Linked DNA regions of Homo sapiens: region 1 is linked to region 2. The links are contacts of gene promoters, found by promoter capture Hi-C in human tissues and cell types (Jung and others, 2019). All regions are on one chromosome and are shown on one strand. The core of a region is centred on a gene start or on the middle of the fragment in contact, and the rest is flanking DNA. Distances in the headings are between cores, read along the strand shown.

Evidence for each region. Contacts are between HindIII fragments. The study calls those that stand out against the background at their distance.
Region 1: a contact is called between a fragment that was not itself captured here and the fragment with the promoter of WDR88 in region 2, in 2 of the 25 tissues and cell types used here (H1 embryonic stem cells and mesendoderm cells).

Annotation. Positions count from the first base shown.
Region 1 is chr19:33,045,300-33,050,502 of GRCh38, forward strand. All of the region lies in intron 1 of RHPN2 (rhophilin Rho GTPase binding protein 2), which reads right to left. Among named protein-coding and RNA genes, the nearest start is that of RHPN2, 17 kb to the right of the region's middle. RefSeq lists an enhancer at 2,981-3,699. The HindIII fragment of the contact is 8,752 bases long and covers 1-5,203 here.
Region 2 is chr19:33,128,808-33,133,696 of GRCh38, forward strand. WDR88 (WD repeat domain 88) reads left to right here and starts at 3,307. Exons shown (of 11, transcript NM_173479.4): 1 at 3,307-3,638. The coding sequence starts at 3,363. GPATCH1 (G-patch domain containing 1) reads left to right here. Exons shown (of 20, transcript NM_018025.3): 20 at 1,323-1,735. The coding sequence ends at 1,353. RefSeq lists a silencer at 242-386 and an enhancer at 3,144-3,313. The HindIII fragment of the contact is 34,056 bases long and covers 1-4,889 here.

The DNA of each region.
Region 1 (5,203 bases), core at 1,006-3,505, 85 kb before region 2:
CCTTGGCCTCCCCAAAGGGCTGGGATGGCAGGTGTGAGCCACTGCGCCTGGCCTACTTTTTTTATTTAGTAACAGCTTTATGGAGATATAATCCATATACCATACGTTTTGCCCTTTTAAAATAAACAATTCATTGGTTTTTAGTATATTCAGGAGTTACAGAACCATCAGTGCTATCTGATTTTTTTTTTTTAGATGGAGTCTTGCTGTGTCATCCAGGCTGCAGTGCAGTGGCACAATCTCGGCTCACTGCAACCTCTGCCTCCCAGGTTCAAGTGATTCTCCTGCCTCAGCCTCCCGAGTAGCTGGAATTACAGGTGCCCACCACCACGCCTGGCTAATTTTTGTATTTTTAGTAGAGACAGGGTTTCGCCATGTTGGCCAGGCTGGTCCTGAACTCCTAACCTCAAGTGATCTGCCTACCTCAGCCCCCCAAAGTGCTGGGATTACAGGCGCGAGCCACCACGCCCATCAACCACTATCTGATTTTAGAACATTTTCATCAGCCTAAAAAAAAAGCAAGTAGCCATTAGCATCGCTCCTCATTTCCTTTTCCCCTTAACCCCAGCCCTAGGCAACCACCAATCTACTTTCTGTCTTTACAGGTTTGCTTATTCAAGATTATTTCATATAAACGGAATCATATAATATGTGGCCTTTGCATCTGGCTTCTTTCATTTGCCATGATGTTCTCAAGGTTTATCCAGGTTGTAGCATGTATCAGAACTTTGTCCGTTTTTGTCCCTGAATAAGATTTCATTACATAGATACACCACACTTGTGTACTTTATCCATTCATCATTCATCATACAATGGGCATGGGGAGTGTTTTCACTTTTTGACTATTACGAATAAGGCTGTTTATGTGCGTACAAGGTTTTATATGGATATGTGCTTTTGTTTCTCTTGGCTATAAATATAGAAATAAAATGTCTAGATCAGGTGGTTTTTTTGTTTTGTTTTTATTTTTGATTCTGTTTTTTTGAGACAGAGGCTTGTTCTGTCGTCCAGGCTTGAGTGCAGTGGCTCGATCTCGGCTCATTGCAACCTCTGTCTCCCAGGTTCGAACGATTCTCCTGCTTCAGCCTCCCGGGTAGCTGGGATTACAGGCGTGCACCACCATGACCAGATAATTTTTGTATTTTTAGTAGAGAGGCGGGTTTCATGATGTTGGCCAGGGTGATCTCAAACTCCTGACCTCAAGTGATCCGCTTGGCTTGGCTTCCCAATATGCTGGGATTACAGGCGTGAGCCACTGAGCCCGGTCTAGATCATATGATTTATTCTATGTTTAATGATTTGAGGAACTATCAGGCTCTTCAAAGTGGTTATACAATTTTACAACCCAACTAACAGGATGAGAGTTCCAATTCATCTACATCTCACCAATACAGGTGCTGGTCTATCTTTTTTATTACAGCTACCTTATGTGTGTGCTGTCTCACATCGTGGTTTTGAATTGTGTCTCCCTGACAGTTAATGATGTTGAATATCTTTTCATGAACTTATTGGCCAACTGTATATCTTCTTCGAAGAAATATCAATTCAGATCCTTTGCCCATTTTTTTTTTTTGAAACAGGGTCTCAGTCTGTCACCCAGACTGGACTGCTGCAGTGGTATGATCTTGGCTCACTGCAACCTTCACCTCCTGGGTTCAAGTGATTCTCCTGCCTCAGCCTCCTGAGCAGCTGGGACTACAGGTGCATGCCACCACGTCCGGCTAATTGTTCCATTTTTTGGTAGAGACAAGGTTTCACCATTTTTTTGCCAGGCTGGTCTTGAATTCCTGACCTCAAGTGATCTGCCCATCTTGGCCTCCCAAAGTGCTAGTCTTACAGGTGTGAGCCACCACACCCAGCTCTCCTTTGCCCAGTTTTAAACTGGATTGTCTTTTTATCTGTCTGGTTGAAAATTATTTTTAATTTCTGTCAAGTTGACATGCAAAAATAGATAGCTCATTCTTCTAATTTGTATGTTTATTATAACAGTGAAGGTAAAGGTTTTTCCATATAATCTTGACACTTTAATTTCTTTTTCAACAAATTGTCTGTGTTCTCTGACCATTGTGCCCTGGGGTATTTGGATTACAACGCTTCACGCTAAAAGTTTAAGATCAGAATAAAAGCTGCATTTTAGCTGAATGGTGTTCTTCCCACCCCAGACAGGTAGAAGCCTCAGGACCTGGGATACGCCCACATTCCTCTTTGCCGCTTATCTCTAGGTCCTGCCCACTGCGGTTACTCCCTGGGAGCGGTCTGGCGGGTAGTATTACGTGGTGAAGAGACTGCCCTTTCTCTCTCCCTGAGTCACATCTCAGGCCTGCACACACCTGGCCTCTCCGACCTCTGCCCAAGCCACACCCATGGCCTGGACCCCAGGGAGGGAGATGTGAGTTATCTATAGCGGAAACCTCCTCAGGAATCCCAGTATTCTCCTTCCACAGAGATTTCTCATTCTTGGCCAGAATGGTCATGGTAGCTCACAACTGTAATCCCAAGCACTTTGAGAGGCTGAGGCCAGAGGATCGCTTGAGGCCAGGAGTTTGAGGCTGCGGTGAGCTACAATTGCGCCACTGCACTCCAGCCTGGATAACAGAGTGAGACTCTGTCTCTACAAATAATAATAAAAATTTTTAAATAATAATAAAAATAAAAGACTTCTCATTCTCATTTCCCATCAGGTCACCACCACCCATCCCCCACATAGCCCCACAACCTAATTTTCCCTGTCTCGCAAGGACACTTTCCCCCAAGTTCAAATTGCACAGATATTCGGAATTCGAGTTGGCTTCTGTAGACAGGCTGGAGTGCAGTGGTACGATCTCAGCTCAGTACAGCCTCTGCCTCCTGGGTTCAAGTGATTATCCTGCCTCAGCCTGCTGAGTAGCTGGAATTACAGGCACCCACCACCACACCCAGCTAATCTTTCTATTTTTAGTAGAGATGGGGTTTCACCGTGTTGGCCAGGCTGGTCTCGAACTCCTGACCTCAGGTGATCCACCCGCCTCGGCCTCCCAAAGTGCTGGGATTACAGGCATGAGCCATGGCATCCAGCCCTGGAATGGATTTTAAAATTAATATCGTTTAAAGCATTAAACGGTTTCCAATTTTGTCTTTCTTCAGATTTAAGATTAAAATATCTTTGGCCGGGCATAGTAGTTCACGCCTGTAATCCCAGCACTTTGGGAGGCTGAGGCGGGTAGATCACCTGAGGACAGGAGTTCGAGAACAGCCTGGCCAACATGGTGAAACCCTGTCTCTACTAAAAATATAAAAATTAGCTGGGCGTAGTGGCATGCGCCTATAATCCCAGCTACTCTGGAGGCTGAGGCAGGAGAATCACTTGAACCCGGGAGGCAGAGGTTGCAGTGAGCCAAGATAACACCACTGCACTCCAGCCTGGGTGACACAGCGAGACTCAGTCTCAAAAAAAAAAAAAAAAAAAACTTTAATGTTAAGCTATTATAATTAAATATTAAATAACTAAAATAACTGTTCATCTCTTTCCTTTCCACTTCCAAAAATGACGACGATTCAGTTTGACTCTGAATTACCTGGATCACCACTGCTGTGTTTCATTTTACAGGGAAGCTTGAATAACTAATTCCTTTACGTACATTCCCAGAGCTCAGATAAGCAGCCATTCCAAACTACGGATAAGAATGTTTTTTTTTCTGTTCGTATACTTTCCCCAACTTCTGCTGGCCTGGAATCAGTACGCCCTAACCAGCCCATAGATATGTGGTCAGGTTTCTAGATAAGGCATAGGAACACTTAGGGTTAGATTTGACTGAGTAATTGGGCCCGAAACCACATTACTTATTCCTGACAGGTAGGAATGTTGGGCTTTGCTGGGGAACACAAGAAACACCCACGGGGCTGTGTGTGGAAACTTCCCTGAGAGGTAAATCTGGACAAGACTGTCAGAAAGACTCCCTGGCATCACCAGAAACTATTGGCCATCTACTAGCCCCTGCCAGGGGCTGCTCTGTAGGGGACAAGGTGGCGGGTCCACCATCCCCACCCATACATTTCTCACCCCACCCCCTATCTTGTGTAATAACGAGACCTTAGCCCTGAACAAACAGCTTCCAGAATAGCCTCTGCAACTCAGAGACAGGGATTGGTTCTCAACAGAACACAAAGCCGCTCTGAGACTGGAGTGAGGGTTTGCACCAGGGACTGGGGCTAAACCTCTCACACCTGTGGGGCCAACTGAGCTGTCCTGACCTCGGGATCTGCTGTTGACAAGTTCTACAGTGAAGTGAGACTTTCTCCTCCACAGAGTCTATTCCCTTCCCACACTAAGGTTCGGACATTTCCGTCAGTCCCGAAACTTGAAGAGTGGGCAAACAGCCAACACCCAAGAAAAGCAAGTACTGAGTGAACCCCCGTGTCATCACCAGCTTTACAGGCAACTCCTGGGGTCGGCCCGCTTATGTGGACCCTGGTACAGCATCTCGGATCCCATGGTTCTGCAGCAAGGAGGCTATATGAGCAACTTGAGATCCTAGAGGCAGGCAGTAAAAGTTGGGGTGGGATTTAAGACCCTGTCCTTCCTGCTGCTCCAGGATGAGCGGTGAGGCGGTGTGAGCGGTAGGAATGCATGCAACCCCCAGACACCCCTTCATGGGTGATGGCTGCCCACCATCACCCCACATCTTTTGGGGGAACAGTGATGCCAGCCCACTCTCCCGCCTCATAGCCCATGATGGCCTGGTGGGGGGCAGGGGTGTGTGTGTAAATCCATGCTCCCCCAACATCCTTTCCAAAGGGAAGAACATCTGACTTCTGCCTGGCCCATTGGAAAACCAAAGCCTGAAGATCAGGGTCAATCGAAACCCATCAGGAAGAGGTCCTCATTGGCCTTGAACCTGGGAGGCTGTGACACTGAGCAGTTGCAGCCACCTTACCACCAGCAGAAGAGTGTCTCCCTAGACAGGGAACCAACCCCAGGTGGGCTGAGCTGAGAAACAGATTTGGCGATGTCATCTGAGCCCTGGATCAAGCTAGGCCTGAAGCCATCCCTCTGTACTTTTCATTTACAGCAACCAATTCATTCCCTTCTTTGTATCTCAATTTTCTGAATTGAGATACAATTTATATATAATAAAATACACATATTTTAAGTATATAGTTCAATGAGTTTGAACAAACATATAAACCTGCGTAACCATCACTCCTATCAAAATACAGAACACAG
Region 2 (4,889 bases), core at 2,057-4,556:
TCTTGTGAGCACACCACGGTATGTTTATCTCTTCTGTTGTGTGGATACTGGGTTTTTTACTTTGAGTCTGTGGAGCAGGGATTTTCAGCCAGTGTGACCCAGCTCTGTTTCAAATAGAACTGCCACGAACATTCCTATATGTATGAAATTCAGATTTAGGCCAGGTGCGGTATCTCACGTCTGTAATCCCAGCACTCTGGGAGGCCGAGGCAGGCGGATCATGAGGTCAGGAAATCGAGACTATCCTGGTTAACACAATGAAACCCCAAACCCCATCTCTACTAAAAAAACTAGCCAGGCGTGGTGGCACGTGCCTGTAGTCCCAGCTACTCAGGAGGTGGAGGCAGGAGAATCGCTTGAACCTGGGAGGTGGAGGTTGCAGTGAACCGAGATCGCGCCACTGTACTCCAGCCTGGGTGACAGAGACTCTGTCTCAAAAAAAAAAAAAGAAAAGAAATTCAGATTTAAGACTGACAACTTGGGGGCTGGGCATGGTGGCTCATGCCTGTAATCCCAATACCTTGGGAGGTCAAGATGGGAGGATCGCTTGAGCCCAGGAGTTCAAGACCAGCTCGGGTAATATAGGGAGACCCTGTCTCTATAAAAAAATTAAAAAAAAAAAAAAGACAACTTGGATGCTTTGGGCCCTGGAGTGAATGTATTTTAGTTCCTTCCCAAGGGTCATGCAACGGATGCGGTAGGTGAGTGAAACTGAGATTAAAAATTGCTTGTATTCTCAAGGCTAAATAAGACTAGGGAAAAAAGTTGCTTTTATAAGTGGTCTTAATACGAGGTGTGGGTGAGTGAGTCTCTGTGTGTTTTCAGGGTAATAGAAGAAGCATTTTAAGAACACAGATTGGCCGGGTACGGTGGCTCATGCCTGTAATCCCAGCACTTTGGGAGGCCGAGGCGGGCAGATCACAGTCAGGAGTTCGAAACAAGCCTGGCCAACATGGTGAAACCCCATCTGTACTAAAAATACAAAAATTAGCTGGGTATGGTGGCATGTGCCTGTAATCCCAGCTACTCTGGAGGCTGAGGCAGGAGACTTGCTTAAACCTGGGAGGCGGAGGTTGCAGTGAGCTGAGATCGCACCACTGCGCTCCAGCCTGGGCGACAAAAGTGAGACTCCATCTCGGGGGAAAAAAAAAAAAAAGCACAGATTAGGCAGTACTTCATTGTGGGTTATTGTGAGTGCATTTTGTAGGTGCAGACATGCTGCTGTGATATGGGGAGGCCTGGCATTCTCAGCCTCCACGGAGCTGTTTGGTTTTTCACTTTAGCTAACTTTCCATTTCTCTCTTTTCTGTTTTCTTTTCCAGGCTGAAAAGTCTTCCACTAAGAAGGCAGTAATTGAATGCTGCCCTGGCTCGTCCTAGAATCATTTCTCCTCCATGATGGAAGCCCAGTGATTGTTCAGTTAACGCATTGTACAGAGTGTATTTATATGTAAATTCCTGCTGTAAAATAATTTTTAAAACCTTGACATTTCAAAGACTGCCTTGAAAGGTCGCAGAAATTGATTTCTATTTTTAATTTCAGTTAGTATCGGGGGAAAAAAATCCAGACTGAACAGTTTAATTAAAGTGGAATTTTTCTATTTTCTTCTTGATTTTTAAAAAATTTCCTGGGACGTTAAAAAAGAAGTTAAAAGTGAAGGCTTCTCTCTGGTTTTGTGATGAAGACAGCCTGGACTCACTGAAGGACAAGCGTGTGAGAAGGGGCGGTTGCGGCCCCTCCTGCCGTTTTTTGGGAGTGAAGCTCTTCCCTCTCTGGGTGGCTGGGTTACTGTTGGTGCCCAGGAAGCCCCATGGGAGGGCAGAGCCAGGGCCTGGCAGGGGGCCTCAGCCTCTCAGGGTAGATGTCACTAAAGTGTCTGAGACAGGCAGGGAAACCAGGCAGGAGAATGTGCACCCACAGCCTGGGTTACACGGCTGCAGCTCCCTGCTCTGAGGCCACCTCATGTGTACCAAGGAGACCTTTTTGAAAAATAAAGTGCAGACCAGGTGTGATGGCTAATGCCTGTAATCCCAGAGCTTTGGGAGGCCGAGGCGGGAGGATTGCTTGAGCCCAGGAATTCCAGACCAGCCTGGGCCACATAGAGACCCCTGTCTCCACAAAAAATAAAGTATTGAGCATTTGTATTTTACATTATGAAAGTAGCATCATAGATCACAACAATTTTAAAAGCAGAAAGAAGGAAGAGGCCGGGTGCGGTGGCCCATGCTTGTAATCCCAGCACTTTGGGAGGCCGAGGCCAGCGGATCACTTGAGGCCAGGAGTTCAAAAACAGCCTGGCCAACATGGCGAAACCTTGTCTCTACTAAAAATACAAAAAAATTAGCCAGGTCTGGTGAGCATACACCTGTAATCCCAGCTGTGTGGGAGGCTGAGGCACGAGAATCCTTTGAACCCTGGAGGTGGAGGTTGCAGTGAGCCGAAATTGCGCTACTGCAATCCAGCCTGGGTGACAGACTCTTGTCTCCACCAAAAAAAAAAAAAAAAAAAAAGAAGGAAGAAAATCACTTTTAGTTTTATCATCCAAAGATGACACCCTTCTTCAATATTTTGAATAATTCCACCCTGTCCTTTTCTAGCTATGGGGCTGTTATCTGACTGGTGGTAGCATTTTATTCCCTGTCACTGTTGTTGGGGTTGTGACAGATATTTCCCTCATCTATTATAAATGTTGTAAACCCACCCCTAATAACTGCATCTTATTTCATGCAGGGGCTACCCCATAACTTACTGACCTTTTCTGTTTTGTCATGAAGTGGGTTGGCCAGGAGCTGTACCCAGGCAGAGGACATGAAGAAATTGCCCTGTGACAGGAGCCAGGGAAACCACAGCGGAGGGCTGGAGGCTGGGGTGCTGGTTTTGCTGGCTCGGCCTGGTTCCCAGAATGCAAAGCCCATTTTTCTTTTTTTTGCAACCTCCACCTCCTGGGTTCAAGCCATTCCCCTGCCTCAGCCTCCCATGTAGCTGGAACTACAGGCGCACGCCCCCATGCCTGGCTAATTTTTGTTATTATTTTTTTTAAGTAAAGATGGGGTTTCACTAAACCTGTTGGCCAGGCTGGTCTCCAACTCCTGACCTCAGGTAATCCGCCCGCCTCGGCCTCCCAAAGTGCCGGGATTACAGGCGTGAGCCACCGCGCCCGGCTGCAAAGCCCATTTTTCTATAGGTAACCTGTGCTGCGCGGGGTGGCACTAGTTTTCACCCAGCGGGCGAGGAGGCAGCGAAGTCGCGGGCCCAGCGTAGCGCGCGCCTCCGAAGGGCTTGGTGCGGGCGCGGGCGCGGGCGCGCGGCGCCACCGTTCCCATCCAGGCTTGTCGGCGGCCACCGGCGGACCGGGCTTCGAGATGGCCTCCCCGCCGCGGTGCTCCCCGACAGCCCATGACAGGGAATGCAAGTTGCCGCCACCCTCCGCCCCCGCCAGCGAGTATTGTCCCGGCAAGCTGTCCTGGGGGACCATGGCGAGGGCCTTAGGCCGCTTCAAGCTGTCGATCCCGCACACGCACCTGCTGGCCACCCTCGACCCCCTGGCCTTGGACAGGGAACCACCACCGCATCTGTTGCCTGAGAAGCACCAGGTGCCGGAGAAATTGATCTGGGGCGACCAGGACCCTCTCTCCAAGGTCAGAACCGCCGCTGGGGTGAGGGGGCACTGGCCTGTTCCCCACACGGGAGGAAGGCGCTCGAGCTGTCGGGGGACCCATGGAAAACCCACCTGGCTTCACCAGGACCCCCAGCGAGGCCCTAGGCCCATTTCCCCATCTGTGGTACATCTGTGGGCAAAGGTCAGACCCACCTGAGCAGGGCGTGCTGGGGATGCCGGCGGGGGCTCCCCGCACTGCCACCTGCTGGGGAACCAGGACTCTTCGCTGGGAGGAGGCTCTGCCCCACCATGTGACCCCATCTAGACCTTGGAGTCTCCGTAGGTAGGCCCACCCACAGTGATGCTCCTAATTGCAGCCCAAGGGTCGGTGGCTCAGCTCTCCCCGTCCAGGAGATACAGTTAGCGTCAGAAGAAACGGGAAACTCAGAATAATAATAACAACAATGAATTGGGCCAGGCAAGGTGGCTCACACCTGTAATCCCAGCCCTTTGGGAGGCCCAGGTGGGAGGATCACTTGAGCCCAGGAGTTTGAGACCAGCCTGGGCAACATAGTGAGAGGTCGTCTCTACAAGAAATAAACTTAGCCCAGTGTGATGGGGCGCACCTGTGGTCCCAGCCACTTGAAAGGCTGAGGCAAGAGGATCCCTTGAACCCAGGAGTTTAAGGCTGCAGTGAGCTATGATTGTGCCACTGCACTCCAGCCTGGGCAACAGAGCGAGACTGTCTCCAGAATAAATAAATAAATAAATAAATAAATAAATAAATAAATATAGAGAGAGAGAGAGAAAGAAAGAAAGAAAAAGAAAAAGAAAGAAAGAAGGAGAAAGAAAGAAAAACTGGCTGGGTGCAGTGGCTCATGTCTGTAATCCCAGCACTTTGGGAAGCCGAGATGAGCAGATCACTTGAGGTCAAGGGTTCGAGACCAGCCTGGCTAACATGGTGAAACCCTTTCTCTACTAAAAATGCAAAAATTAGCCAGGCATGGTGGTGCGTGCCTGTAATCCCAGCTACTCAGGAGGCTGAGGCAGCAAGATCATTTGAACCCGGGAGGCAGAGGTTGCAGTGAGCTGAGATCATCTCACTCCATCTCAAAAACAAAACAAAACAAAAACCCAATAAAGAACATTCTCAATAAGTAGCGTTTCATGCTTGGCCTTGATTTATTGCACTCACATGCAGATGTCAGAGTGTGTTTTTAATAATTTCCTCGAAACCTCTGCCTGGCTTCCCAGCATGTTTAAGATGAAGTCTGGCGATCTGCCTGTGGCC